2 separate regions of the Homo sapiens genome follow, and region 2 is linked to region 1. The links are contacts of gene promoters, found by promoter capture Hi-C in human tissues and cell types (Jung and others, 2019). All regions are on one chromosome and are shown on one strand. The core of a region is centred on a gene start or on the middle of the fragment in contact, and the rest is flanking DNA. Distances in the headings are between cores, read along the strand shown. Region 1 holds the start of MAPRE1 (microtubule associated protein RP/EB family member 1). Region 2 overlaps ITCH (itchy E3 ubiquitin protein ligase).

What was found. Contacts are between HindIII fragments. The study calls those that stand out against the background at their distance.
Region 2: a fragment that was not itself captured here is called in contact with the fragment with the promoter of MAPRE1 in region 1 in 1 of the 25 tissues and cell types used here (dorsolateral prefrontal cortex).

Annotation. Positions count from the first base shown.
Region 1 is chr20:32,817,046-32,824,738 of GRCh38, forward strand. It overlaps MAPRE1 (microtubule associated protein RP/EB family member 1), which reads left to right and starts at 2,909. Exons shown (of 7, transcript NM_012325.3): 1 at 2,909-2,983. RefSeq lists a silencer at 2,626-3,215 and enhancers at 3,288-3,957, 3,958-4,627. The HindIII fragment of the contact is 10,810 bases long and covers 1-7,693 here.
Region 2 is chr20:34,448,441-34,456,133 of GRCh38, forward strand. It overlaps ITCH (itchy E3 ubiquitin protein ligase), which reads left to right. Exons shown (of 25, transcript NM_031483.7): 12 at 971-1,040. Among named protein-coding and RNA genes, the nearest start is that of MIR644A, 14 kb to the right of the region's middle. The HindIII fragment of the contact is 3,166 bases long and covers 1,385-4,550 here.

The sequences.
Region 1 (7,693 bases), core at 1,659-4,158:
TCATATTACTGCTGTCGCTATAATCATTTGTTACATGGTTTTTTATTCTTTATTGTTGCCTCTTTTTTTTTCTTTTTCTTTTCTTTTTTTTTTTTTTTTGAGTTGGAGTCTTGCTCTTTTGCCCAGGCTGGAGTGCAATGGTGCCATCTCGGCTCATTGCAACGTCCACCTCCTGGGTTCAAGCAATTCTCCTGCCTGAGCCTCTCGAGTAGTTGGGATTATAGGTGTCCGCCACCATGCCCAGCTAATTTTTGTATTTTTAGTAGAGACGGGGTTTCACCATGTTGGCCAGGCTGTTCTCCAACTCCTGACCTCGTGATTTGCCGACCTCAGCCTTCCGAAGTGCTGGAATTACAGGCACGAGCCACCGCGCCTGGCTTTTCTTGCCTTTTTTTGCTCAAACTCTGTTTTTTTTTTTTCTTTGAGACAGAGTCTTGCTCTATCACCCAGGCGGGAGTGCAGTGGCACGATCTCAGCTCACTGCAACCTCCACCTCCTGGGTTCAACCAATTCTCCTGCTCCATCCTCCCAAGTAGCTGGGATTACAGGCGCGCGCCACCACGCCCAACTAATTTTTGCATTTTTAGTAGAGACGGGGTTTCACCACGTTGGTCAGGCTAGTCTCAGACTCTTGACCTCGTGATCCGCCCACCTCGGCCTCCCAAAGTGCTGGGATTACAGGCATGAGCCACCACAACTGGCCTTGCTCAAACTCTTTTGCCAAGGTAACTCCTCATCTTTCATGGTAAGTGTCATTTCTGGGAAGCTTTTCCACACTACCTAGGAGAGGTCATGTCTCTTGTGGTGTGCTCTTGGAGCAGTACTCGAGACCGAAGTATTGAAATGCCTCTAGACCTGCTGATAAACAGCTCCTGCCCCAGCTTCCCCACCCATTCTTCCCTGAACGTCTTACTGGGTTTCAGCAACTAACTGGGTGAGATTTGGCCTAGAGGGACCTCTAGGCCCCTGCTCCACACAGTGGAAGTACCATCAGCCCACCACATAATGTCCCTGCCTAGCATTGAGCCTGATTTGTAATTTAACAAGGATTTGTGTCATTAGTTGTGTCCCCTTTGCCTCCCCTGCCAGTCTGGAAACTTTAAGAGGTCAGAAGCTGTGTCTAGTTTTCGTTTTTATCTCTTAGAGATGGAGTTTCACTCTGTTTCCCAGGCCTGGAGTGCAGTGGCGTGATCTTTGCTCACTGCAGCCTCGAACTCCTGGGCTCAAGCGATCCTCCTGCCCCAGCCTTCCCAGTAGCTGGAACTAAAGGCACGTACCACCATGATCAGATTGTGTCTTTTTTTCACCAGGGCCTGATTGGTCAGGGAAAATATTTGTTGAATACTTGAATAAATGATACCCAGACAAAAAAAGTCAGCTTGAAATCTGGATCTACCTCTGACACTGAGTGAGTCAATTGGCCTCTTTGTCCCTCAGTTTCTTTCTGCTGTAAAGTGGTGCAGTTCCTCTTTTTTTCTTTTTTAGACGAAGTCTGACTGCAACCTCTGCCTCCCAGGTTCAAGTGATTCTCCTGCCTCAGCCTCCCAAGTAGCTGGGATTACAGGCGCCCACCACCATGCCCGGCTAAGTTTTGCATTTTTAGTAGAGATGGGGTTTCGCCATGTTGGACAGGCTGGTTTCCAACTCCTGACCTCAGGTAATTCATCCGCCTTGGCCTCCCAAAGTGTTGGGATTACAGGTGTGAGCCACCACGCCCAGCCCAGTTCCTCCTTCAGCCAAGGCTCTCTTGAGAATGTAAGGGCCAGGTGTGGTGGCTCACGCCTGTAATCCCAGCACTTTGGGAGGCCGATGCGGGTGGATCTCTCGAGCCCAGGAGACCAGCCCAGCCTGGGCAACATGGCAAGACCCCATCTCTTAAAAAAAAAAAAAAAAAAAAGAGGGAGTGGGCAAGAGAGAATGTATGTACAGCCATTGGGAAACAACCCGGAACAGGACTCAGGAGGTCCTTGCTCCTGTGGACTTTACAGGAGACAGACAGTAAAGGCACAAGATGCCTTCTTATGGTACTAAGAAGAAAATATGCCGCATGATATTGCAGATGGGGGGGCGGGGGCGTCACAGAACGTGACTTTTTTTTTTTTTTTTTGAGACAGAGTCTTGCTCTGTCGCCCAGACTGGAGTGCAGTGGTGCAGTCTCGCCTCACTGCCACCTCCGTCTCCTGGGTTCAAGTGATTCTCCTGCCTCAGCTTCCCAAGTAGCTGGAATTACAGGCGCCCACCACCACGCCAGGCTAATTTTTGTATTTTTAGTAGAGATGGGGTTTCACTATGTTGGCCAGGCTGGTCTCAAACTCCTGACCTCAGGTGATCCTCCCACCTGGGCCTCCCAAAGTGCTGGGATTAAAGGCGTGAGCCACTGCACCCGGCCCAGAAAGTTGACTTCTAAGCGTTTCCCCAAAGTGTCTATTAGGTATCTTTATGATTCAATAACCCATTCTTACAGAAATTAATTGTAAGCCTGGGAGCGGTGGCTCACGCCTGTTATCCCAGCGCTTTGGGAGGCTAAGGCGGGAGGATCGCTTGAGGCCAAGAGTTCGAGACCACCCTGGGCAACACAGCGAGACCTCCATACATCTCTAAGCAAAAAAAAAAAAAAATTCATTGTAAAAGCAATTTTCTTTTTGGTTACTGCCATAGGGATTTTGTAACTGAGTCACACCGGGCCGAGGCGGGACCTCATTGGCTGCGACCGACCACGTGCCGCAGTCGCCCCGGCGGTCGGGGCCCCGCCCCTCGGCTACCGTTCTGTGGATCAGGGGCCGAGCTCCGCCCCCGGCGCGCGGCTGAGACCCTCTCTATAAAAGGAGCCGGCGGAGGATGGCGAGCCTTTACGTCGGCGCGTAACGAGGGGGTGCGTGTGAGGTCATCGCGCGGGCGGGCGGGCGGGGTCTGGCGGTTTGAACGAGACGAAGACGGAACCGGAGCCGGTTGCGGGCAGTGGACGCGGTTCTGCCGAGAGCCGGTGAGCCGGCTAGCGGGCCCGGGGGGTGCGGCTGGGGGGGCGGCCGCGTGGGCCAAGGCCGGGCGTGCGCGGGCAGGCCCTACGGGCAGCGCCAGGGCCGTTCCACACGGCGGTGCTGTTCGAGCCGGGTGGGGGAAGGGCGGGGCCGTCACCCGGCGCGCGCGGGCTGGGCCTGGGGGCGCGCGCTGCGCTCTGCTCAGGGGGCGGGGTCTCGGGCCGGAAGTGGGCTGCTGCTACGCGGGGTGGGGGTTTCTGGGCCGCCGCTGAGGTGTGGTCCCTGCGCTGCAGCGACTGGAGGTCCCAGGGTGGTTGGGCCCTGGGAGGGTGTGGGCGAGGTGGGCCGTCCTGGGAGCTCTGGGGACGCACATTGTGGGAGGCCGTGTTGCCTGAGGGCCGAGAGATCGGGTGGTGGAGTCAGACCTGGGTTGGGTTCCGTGCGGTGTGACCTTGGACAGGTGCTTTAACCGCTGTGGATCTCAGCTTCCTCATCTGTAAAACGGGGACAGTAATACTACCCACATTAAACTCTTAGCGCGATGTATGGCAGAAAGTAAGCCAGCTCTTGGACTCCCTCCTTTCTTCAGTGTGTGTTTATTGAATGCCCACTAGGTGTTGGGCACCGTGCTAAACCCTGGCTGTTTTCCCGGGAACAAAGATTTGCTCTCCAGGAATCCACATTATGATGAGCAGGAGGACAGTATAACGGGATGGTATCAACAGTGCTAGTTCAGTCCCTACTTCACAGTTGCCCTCGGATGCTGCAGGGCAGAGCTTGACCTCTGCCCCATTTTGGGGATGAGGATCCTGGGGCCCATTGAGGGAGGTTATGCTAGGCCGGGCATCCGCTTCTCCGATGGCATGTCTCTAACAGTAGTAATGATAATAGCAGCTCTTTGTTAGTTGGGCACTTGTTTTGTGTCAAGCACTGTTAAGTGCTCCATGTGGCTTTGTGTCTTTTAATACTAACACTGTCTTTAAGAGAGATTCTCTTCTTCCTTTTTTTTTTTTTTTTGAGACAGAGTTTTATTCTGTTGCCCAGGCGTGCAGTGGCACCATCGCTCACTGCAACCTCCGCCTCCCGGGTTCAAGCGATTCTCGTGCCTCAGCCTCCCGAGTAGTCGGGATTACAGGCGCGCGCCACCAAGCCCGGCTAATTGTTGTATTTTTTAGTAGAGACGAGGTTTCGCCATGTTGGCCAGGCTGTTGTCGAACTCCTGACCTCAAGTGATCTGTCCGCCTCGGCCTCCAAAGTGTTGGGATTACAGGTGTGAGCCACCGCGCCTGGCAAGAGAGATTACTTTCATTTTACAAATAAGGGGTCTGAGACTCTGAGAGGCGGAGTGTCTTATGCAGCCCAGCAAGTGGCTGAACCCCCACCTGGGACTTCAGTGTCTAGGCTCTTAACCTCTTTATTACACTTTCTCCCTGAGGTCCAGAGCTACACATCCAGATGTGCCCTTTGTGGTGGTGCGTCAAAGTGCCTAGCACAGTTTTTGGCACAGAGGGAAGCTTAGGACGTGATGTGCCTTTTGCTTAAGTGTTTTCATGTAGATTTTTGTTTAATCCTTACCACCACTTTGTGCAGAGATACTGTTTTACCCATTTTACAGGATGAGCCATTTGTGATGCAGGAAGATTAAGTGACTTGCCCACGGTCACATAGGTCCTTTCTGGTGGCACCTCCTTCCCCCACTTTACATAGGGCTTATTGTGGTGCCTTGAAAGTAATAGAGTGCTTTAGAGCCAGCGTTGAATTTGTATAGGTTTGGGATCTTGCTAGGAGAGCTGCTGAAGGAAGAGAGATTCCTGGGTAGGTTTGAGGGAGCTTTTTCATGGTGGTGGTGGAAACCTGGATCAGGAAGCCTTGTAAGGGTGAGATTTGTGTGGTAGTCATGGGTCTTCCATGGCTGCCAATGATGGAATTGTGAAGGAAGGGTGAGCTGGAGCTCTGTTTTGATTGTCAGGAGGAGCCAATTAATTGATTGAGTCGGTGGATGTTCATTGTACATCCACAGGGTGCCTAATCCATGTATTTAGTGGCTGCAGCGTTTGTGGAGCACGTGGGACCAGGTATTAATGTACTGCTAATGAAAGTTTTAAATTATATGATGATGAAAGGCCATTAATGTTTTTTGAGCTGGGGTGTGGTCAGGAGACACACATGGCTTTACCAGCTGCTTAGATTTTATAGCAGCATGATGCACACGATACAGTATATATAGGAATGTCGCCATAATAGATTACAATTGCTCAGCTGGGACCATGTCTTTTTTGTTTGAATGTCTCTGGTACCTGATTTTGCGCACAGTATTTTGTTCATTCAAGGATTTTAAACAAGGGAGGCACTTGCTGTGATTTGTGATTCAGGAAATTCTCTCTGGTTTGCTGTGTAAGAACAGATTGACACAGACAAATTTGAAGACTGTTGCAGTGCATCTCCGTGCAAGATGGTGCTGGCAGGTCTCAGGCGCACTGTTTTTGGCATTGGAGATAGGAGGATGAGTGAGACAAGGTCCCTACCCTACATCTTGTTTGTTAAATACCTCTTAAATTTGATGCCATGCCAAATATTTTATGTACCTTATCTAATTTAAACCCTTCTATGACCCTTTTCAGATAGGTGGCTTTAACTTGTAAGGGAACTGAGGTACATTGAGTTTAAGTAACTTGCCTAAGATCACACAACTAATGAGTGACTGCCTCACATTCAAACCCATGTCCTCCTGGCTTGAAATCCTCAGCTGTTTGCATCGAGTGGATTGCTTCCTGGCCCAAATCTGGCTCGAGAATGGTTCAGAAATAACGAGATAATGACAATTCATTGTGGGACTTCCTATCATAAAGGTTTGAATGAATTGCTCTGGAAACATAGGGATTAATTTCCCAGTGGAGTCAGTAACTAAATTGTGTTGGTGTCTTGCATAACATGGTTTTATCAGCTGATTTGGGGAGTGTAACAGTGTTGATGATTTGCTTTCTGACAAGTTTATATAGACACATTTTTCTCTCTTTGACGCTGTTCTGCCAACCTGAAAATAAGTAGTGAGTGCTTGCTATGTGCAAGATACTATGAGGTGCCTGGGAGATGTGAGGGCACGCAGACCTGGCAAGTTATTGACCTCTACAGACCTCAGTCACCCCATAAAAAGGGGACTGGATGGGTGGATTTGCCTCTTCTGGCTGTCACATTCTGTGGCTTGGTGAGTCAGGAGGCTTGCAGCAGCTTAGTGCAGGAGACTGATGTGGAAAGACCAACTCTAGTCACTAGGTGGAGGGAACGAAGTACCGTAAGAGAGCAAGGGGCTGGGATCTCAGGATTGTTCCAGATTGCTCTGCATCTTTCCCCTGCCCCTCCCCACTGGTAATGTTGCTGTCTTATGAAATGAAGAAAATTGTTAAGTGTCTAGGTCACTATGAAGTCTCTGGTATTTCATAGTGTGTCCTCATGGTGACTGCTCAGGGATTTGATTTAGATCTGGATTAGCCTGCCTTTATCTTGAGTCTTCCCTCCCTACTGTCTGTTCTCTACTAGTAGTCAATGTGATCTTTTTCAAACTGTAATGAGAGCAAGATTCTACCGCACTTAAAACCTGAAAGTGCCTGGGTGTGGTGGCTCATGCCTGTAATCCCAGCACCTTGGGAGGCTGAGGCGGAGGATTGTTTGAGGCTGGGCCGCAAAATGAGACCTGGTCTCTACAAAAAATTAAAAAATTAGCTGGGCTTGGTGGTGACCATCTGTAGTCCCAGCTACTTGGGAAGATGAGTCAAGAGGATGGCTTGAGCCTGGGAAGTCAGGGCTGCAGTGAGCCGTGATTGTGGCATTGCACTCCAGCCTGGGTGACAGAGTGACACCCTGCCTCAAAAAACAAACCCAACAGTGGATTTCTTAATAGAATAAAATCCTAACTCCTTCTGTTCCCACCTCAGGCTCTGCTCTCCTTGCTCACTGGGCTGGAGAGCCCTATCTCTAGAGCTTCATGTGGTTGCTTCTTTCTCTGATCCTTAAGCTCAACTGTTCATCTCAGAGAGGCTTCCTCTGACCACATTCCGTAAACCCCGTTGCATAAGTGGTTGGTATGAAATGATGTTTGTTGGTGTATTTGGTCAGTGTCAGACTTTGCACCACTAGAATGTGAACTCCCTGTGGACAGGCACCTTGTCTCTTGCTTTTCTGTATCCTGGTCCCTAGAACAGTGCCTAGCACGCGGTAGAGCTAGTAAACATTTGTAGAATGAGTGACGGTTGACTACACTGGTGCTCATAGACAATAACGCCCACATTTACTAGCATTTGAAAATTAGACTCATTGCTGTGTGTTTATTGTTTTGAATTTGAAAGCCTAGCAGAAAAGGGAGGGAAGAGAATGTGGAGGCTGGGGCTGGGCAGGCTTGCCTGCCAACCCCAGGGCCTCTCTTGTCCTCACCTGTAAAATGAGGGACATGAAGTGAACCTTGCAGAGGGCTGTCAGGGTTAAACAACAAGTGTCTGTGAAGTATCTGGCACTTAGGCCCACAGATGCCCTACCATTGCCAGGTAGCTCTGCAGAGAATTAACTACAAGGATTCTTCACCTGTAAGGTCATTTGATACTGCCTTTTTAATATCTAGGTATTGAAAAGCTGATTTACTTTTTCAATTATGAAAGAATTTATAGTTTTTTTTTTTTTTTTGGAAATAGGATCTCACTGCCTCAACCTCTTGGACTCAGGCG
Region 2 (7,693 bases), core at 1,718-4,217, 1.6 Mb after region 1:
AAAATATGTAGTAGAGGTGAAATAATGTTTGATTTTCGCTTCAACAAAGAACAGGAGAAAAGAGATAAAGAAACTTGGCAAAGTCTTGATAAGTGTTGAATCCTGGTGCTGGGTATGTGGGAATGTGGGATTCATTGCCCTGTTTTACTTGTTTTTTTTTTCTTCCCCATAGTGAAATTATTTTTAATGCAGTTAGACTCTTGTTTATCTTACTGAAGAAGAAAGGGTTTAACCAAATCTTACTGGGTGACCATGTAATTATCTCTACTTAATTATACATTTAAATCAAAACAGACTTAATATCTCTACACAGAGTCGGTGTGACTTTTGTTTTCTTTTTCCAAAGGTTGACTCTTACTTTGCTTTCATCTTATCTAGCCAAATCTTTCTCTCCACCAATGTGATCATTGGAAACAGAACTTTTAAGAAGTCTTCCATACAGTTCTAGGCTCATTAACACTTTCCAGCTGGAAACCTTTCCTTCCACTCATCTGGCAGCCCACTCTTCCTGTTCCCCCAACTCTCTTCTCATAATTCTTTGTATGTCACATGTTCTGTATTTGATCTTCTGTTTTTGAGTTACACATATAATATTTTTCATAGTCATATGATGATTCTGGGTACTGGTATTGTAAATGACTTTTGGGGGGGTTATATATTTTTCTAATTTTTATATTATTGATGTAAAATTTGTAGCACAAAGGAAAAATGGTCATTTTGGGGATGAGGATTACATATATGTGTAGTATTTTAATTTTAAATAATTTTAAATGTTAGGTAATGTTTGCACCGGTTTTTTTTAAACCAAACCAAAGTATATTGGCATTTATCCATAACCATGTGACACTTCTTTAAGATACAAACTCTCTGTGTTATACATTGCCAGGGAAGGGAAATCAGAACTCATAAGCTTGCTGTCAGATAAGTTGTTAAGTTGTTAATAGTTTCATCACTTTTTGGTTCTTTTTAGAATCAAGATTTATTTGCTACATCACAAAGTAAAGAATTTGATCCTCTTGGTCCATTGCCACCTGGATGGGGTAAGTCACATGAGTTTCTTCATGGAGTTCTGTCATTTCATTTTTGTTCTCTTCCAATTGTGTCATTTTAAAACAGATATTTATGTCTGATACTGTGCTCTTGCTTGAGTGAATGTCTGGGAAGTTTTTTTTTAATATATATATCAGTTTAATTCACAAATAGGCATTAAATTCCCCAAACATTAAGTGGACTCTTTATAAACTTTTATTGACGCTCATAATTATTTTACTCTTCTACAGTTTAAAGATACTGATCACCCAGCAATAAAAAAGGAATGGGCTATTGATACACCAGTAGGTCTGGGTGGACTTCAAGAGTAATTTGCTTGATGAAGAAAGTCAGTCTCAAAAGATCACAACCTGTGTGATTCAATTCATATAACATTCTCAAAATGACAAAACTAGAGATGGAGAACATATTAGTACTTGTCAGGAAACAGGGTAGGTGGGAAGTGGATTCAAATATTAAAAGGTAACATAAGGGGGTTTTACGTGATGATGATGATTCCATCATCTTGATTCCATCAAGATCCACAAGATGATTCTGTATCTTGATTTTGGTAATAGGTGATTACATTAATAATGTATACATGAGATAATGCATAGAACTATATATTTACAGAAATGAATTCAGCTTTTAAACATGGTGAAAATTTAACAATGTTTGTGGTTAACAATAATGTACCAATGCCACTTCTGTGGTTTTGATGCTGTACGTAGTTATATAAGATGTCACCATCGGAGAAAAATGAAGTATATGTGAGACTTTTTGTGCAATTTTTTACATCCTGTGAGTAATAATTAATTCAAAATAAAAAGCTTTTTAAAAAATTGTAATCACATTGGTTCTCCTAAAACAAGGTTCAGAGTTTGGTTAAGTTGGCATTATCTGATAGAAGAGTGGAAGGAGCACATGTGAAGGTGTCAACTTCATGCCCTACACCATGGAGCTCAAGAGCATGTGCTGTTATTGAGTATATCTGATACCTTAGTTATTAAAATAGACCTTAATAGACTTTAAGCTGGACCTACCCTACTAGGTTCTATTTTATAGTGTTATGTAATACTCACAGCATTATATAGCAAGGTTTCAGAATAAAGATGGCAGTATAGAAAGTTTTGCATAGAAGCAAGATAATAATATATTATAATAGAAAGTGGAAAACAACATAAAGCCCATTGTGGAACCAGAGTTTTGTCTTCAAGAGCTGAAGATACTTCATAATATTGGGATAAATTCAGAAAGTGATATTTCTAGATTGGGAAAAGTTGGTCCCCAAGATACATTGTTCTAGCAGTACTGAGTTATGGAGAAAAAATGTTGGTGTGTCAAGATCACATGAGTCTGGTTAATAAATGCTACTGGGGGTATAAGCTTTTCTTTGAGAAATCTCATTGCTCTTATTTAAAGGTATCTATTCTCAAAACACTTCTGTGAGTCAAAAAGGTAAAAAATGTATTAGGCTATACATATAACTGTTACTGTTATTAGCTTATAACAACAGGAGGACATATGAAAGTTGTGGGCCCGATGCAGTGACTTACACTTATAATCCTAACACTTTAGGAGGCTGAGGCAGGTGAATCGCTTCAGTTCAGGAGTTCAAGACCAGCCTGACCAACATGGTGAAACCCTGTCTCTACTAAAAATACAAAAAAATTAGGTGGGCTTGGTGGCCCGTGCCTGTAATCCCAGCTGCTCAGGAGGCTGAGGCAGGAGAGTCACTTGAACCCGGGAGGCGGAGGTTGCAGTGAGCCAAGATCGCGCCATTGCACTCCAGCATAGGCGACAGAGCGAGACTCCGTCTCAAAAAAAAAAAAAAAAAGAAATTAGCCAGGCATGGTGGTGCTTGCCTATAGTCCCAGCTACTCTTGAGGCTGACGTGGGAGGATCGCTTGAGCTTGGGAGTTTGAGGCTTCAGAGAGTCGAGATCACACTATTGCACTCCAGCCCGGGTGAGAGAGCAAGACCCTGTCTCAAAAAAAAGAAGAAAGCAAGTTGTGAATTTCTGTCTTTACCAAAGCTTGGCAGCCTGGAGTTAAGGAGTCCTCTGTCTCTACTGAAGCCTAAGAGTGGTCAGTGAATGGTTAGTATGAAGTACTTTAGAAGAGGGGATGTTGCCCTTACAAGGCATATTAAACTTAACCTGTCAGATTGCATTCCCAGACATGGATGGTTTTATTTCTAGAGTTTCCCAGCTTTATTTCTAGAGTTGTATGTCTTATGTTAGAGAAGGAGAAAAAAACTCATGCACTAAAATGATATATCCAAAGGATATGTATTTATCCTCTTAATTTTATTGCAGGCCAGGCATGGTGGCTCACACCTGTCATCTCAGCGCTTTGGGAGGCTGAAGTGGGAACATTGCTTGAGCCCGGGAGTTGGAGATCAGCCTGGGCAACATAGCGAAAACCTGTCTCTATAAAAAAATACAAAAAATAATCTGGGTGTGGTGGAACACCTCCTAATCCCAGTTTCTTGGGAGGCTGAGGTGGGAGGATCACCTGAGCCTGGGAAGTCAAGGCTGCAAGTAGGCCAAGATTTTGCCACTGTGCTTCAGCCTGGGCAACAGAGTGAGACCCTGTCTCAAAAAAAAAAAAAAAAAAAAAAAGTTGCAGAAAAACTATGACCTGCTTCATGGTTATGGTCAGAAACAAAACTGTTTTACTCCTTCTCTAGGGCAGGTGTAGAAAAAAATGCCTCTTGCTTATAGAAAGCTGAATTGTGAGCTGCGTTTCCTTTATCAGAAAAGTCTTTCCTGCAAGTTGGTCCTTGCCTTCTGTATTCATCATTTTCTTTATCATCCAGATCTTTCTCATTTTTACTTTAGCCAACAACACTTTGCTAAAATACTGTGTTAAAGATCCAGCTTAGCCAGGTTATTAGAGTCTTGTTCTGCTATTTTACAGTCTGCTTATTTTTAGGTTTCACATTCCTCATGTTGAAGTAGTGCTACAGATGTTTATGATTATCCTACTCAGACTGAGCACTGCTTTATGACTTGCTGCCTTTGGGGCATATACCTTACTTGTAGAACCAGTGACAGCACTGGTAGTATATCAGATGAAGCAACCCACCCAACATACCTTCAGGATTGACCCAGGTTGATAGAATCCCATCTTACAGCTTGCACCCTTTCAGACTTTTATATGCTGGGACTAGACATTCCTACCTCATAGGCTCAGTGAATAATTGGTTTTTTAGAGATGGGGGTCTCCCTGTGTTGCCCAGGCTGGGGTGCAGTGGCTGTTCTCCAGCATAGTAATTGCACACTACAGCTTTGAACTCCTGGCCTCAAGCAATGCCTCAGCCTCCTGAGTAGCTGGAATTACAGTTTTGTGCCACGATGCCTAGCTAGGCAGTGAAGAATTTTTAACACATGAACATACTATAGAGGATAAAGAACAAAGAATACTTTTGGTTCACCAGTATTATTTAATAGGGCTTTGTATAGGTGCTTCGCCAATCAAGTATGAAGATATTCTCTCATTTTCCTAGTTACTGTGAAAGAATACATAGAATGACAAGAAGTGTCTGTTTTTTACTGTTTTATTCATCAAGTCAGGAAGTGTTCTAATCTGCATTTGGATTTGATGTTCAGTAATTTCAGTATTGTTTATTATGTGATTTTTCAACAAAGTCAGAAATCCGTTCTACAGCCACAGCACTTCCTCTCATTAAGTAGATGAGCCTTCAGTTCACAAATGTGTCAAGGCTGATCTCAGCAGCATATACTTAGAATATATATGAGAAAAATGTTTGCTATTAATTTTCTCTTGCCTCATGTTATCTTCTGAAAGGAAAATCTTGGCCTGAAATCTGAACTTTGCTGACAGATAAAAGATGAATGGCCATTACAGTGGCTCACGCCTGTAATCCCAGTACTTTGGGAGGCCAAGGCTTGTGTCCAGGAGTTCGATACCAGGCTGGGGCAACATGGTGAAACCCCATCTTTACAAAAAATACAAAAATTAGTTGGGTGTGGCATGCCTGTAGTTCCAGCTACTTGGGTGGCTGAAGTGGGAGGGTTGCTTGAGCCCCGGAGGTCAAGGCTATAGTGCGCTGTGATTGTATCACTGCACTCCAGCCTGGACAACAGAGTGATACTCTTTCAAAAAACCAAAAGAGAGAGAAAAAAGTTGAGTATGTGCTCAGCTATATACTTAGGGTATTATTTTTAGGTTATAAAAATTATTTGGATATATATTTTTAAACAAGAAAGAGAATTCTGGCTGGGTACGGTGGCTCATGCCTGTAATTCCAGCACTTTGGGAGGTCGAGGCGGGTGAATCACCTGAGGTCAGGAGTTCGTGATCAGCCTGGCCAACATGGTGAAATGCTGTCTCCACAAAAAATACAAAAATTAGCTGGGAGTGGTGGTGGACGTCTGTAGTACCAGCTATTTGGGAGGCTGAGGCAGGAGAATTGCTTAAACCTGAGAGGTCGAGGCTGCAGTGAGCTGAGATCGCGCCACTGCACTCCAGTCCAGCCTGGGTGACAGAGCAAGGCTCCGTCTCAAAAAAGAAGAAGAAGAACAAAGAGAGAATTCTGGATTCTGCAAATAAATTTTTAAAATTTAATGCGACTGCCAAGACATGAACTTATCTTGCTGTTATGTTAACAAGAGCAAGCTGTAACACTGTGGGTGATTATGTTTTTCTTTTTTTTTTTTTTGAGACGGAGTCTCGCTCTGTCGCCCAGGCTGGAGTGCAGTGGCGCGATCTCGGCTCACTGCAACCTCCGCCTCCCGGGTTCACGCCATTCTCCTGCCTCAGCCTCCCGAGTAGCTGGGACTACAGGCGCCCGCTACCACGCCCGGCTAATTTTTTGTATTTTTAGTAGAGACGGGGTTTCATTGTGTTAGCCAGGATGGTCTCGATCTCCTGACCTCGTGATCCGCCCGCCTCGGCCTCCCAAAGTGCTGGGATTACAGGTGTGAGCCACCGCGCCCGGCCTATGTTTTTCTTTAGAGACAGCCTTTGAGTTGGTGATAAGCTTATGCACTGAAGATGCCTTGACCAGCAAAACCTGTGTCATGAGAGGCAGAGTCCCACTTTTCTGTATATTATGCACATTGGAATTCTATTTTCATTTTAAGCTAAGCTGACATAGAAAGTAGCTTTAAATGTCAGAAGCAGGTTTGTGATACTCACTAGTTACATCCATTTTAACCTCTGTTATCACTACTACTTGAAATCATGGAATTATATTGGAAATAAAATTAAATATTACCAAATACGAACTTGACAAGACTATAATTTGGCCTAAAACTGATCCAGATGATCTCAAGTGTTAATTTGAAAAATAGTTACCAATTTTTCTTTTTTCTTTTCCTGTTTTTTTTTTTTTTTTTTTTTTTTTTTTTGAGATGGAGTTTTGCTCTTGTCGCCCAGGCTGGAGTGCAATGGCATGATCTTGGCTCACTGCAACCTCTGCCTCCCGGGTTCAAGCGATTCTCCTGCCTCAGTCTCCCTAGTAGCTGGGATTACAGATGCCCACCACCATGCCCAGCTAATTTTTGTATTTTTAGTAGAGACGGGGTTTCGACCTGTTGGCCACGCTGGTCTCAAACTCGTGACCTCAGGCCATCCGCCTGCCTTATAACTCCCAGAGTCCTGGGATTACAGGCGTGAGCCACAGCGCAGGACCAATAGTTAACCAATTTTTCAAACCACAGGAAATAAAAATTAGCCATGTCAACATGGATTAAACTTAAATTTTTGTTTAAAATGCTGATTTTTAGAAACTAAGCTTTTTAAAAAGTTTCAGTTCATTCTATGATCTTTAATACATCAGTTCATTCTATGATCTTTAATACATCAGTTATTCATTTTGAGACATGTTGAACAAATAAATTAGGATACAGCAGGAATCCCATCTTTTGAAGAATTCATTGGTAATGGGACAGAGAAGTCAGTAATTCAAAAACAGCAGAACTGTTAAAATTTCAAGTCTACTTAATTTGTTTACTAAAAGAGAAAATGATATCCACATTTTTTTTTTTTTTTTGAGACGGAGTCTTGCTCTGTCGCCAGGCTGTAATCCATCTCGGCACACTGTAACCTCTGCGTCCCGGGTTCAAGCAGTTCTCCTGCCTCAGCCTCTCGAGTTGCTGGGACTACAGGTGCACACCGCCATGCCTGGCTAATTTTTTTTTTTTTTCTTTTTTGTATTTTAGTAGAGACGGGGTTTCACCATGTTGCCCAGGTTGGTCTTGAACTCCTGAGCTCAGGCAGTCCGCCCGCCTCTGCCTCCCAACGTGCTAGAATTACAGGCATGAGCTACTGCGCCCGGCCAATATCCACATCTTCTAAACCTTAATGGGGAGATTTCAGGAAAGCAGGTAAAATTTTGTAGACTGGGAACACGAAAACAGGGAGAATCCTAAAGCAAGAGGCAGTTGGGGAACAAGCAGCAGCTTTAGATGCAGTAATTAGAGAACTGAGTTCTGCTTCCTATCCCTTGTATAGAAAGTTACTGTAGATATTTAGGATTTTGGAACTGGGTATATTAAGGAACGAGATATGTTAAGTGTATTAAGAAAGGAAGTATTTTTTAGTTGAATAATGCCTAGCATATACCTTATATTATATTCCTTATTTTGTATATATATGTATGTATATATACACACTCTCAAATTACATTATATTCC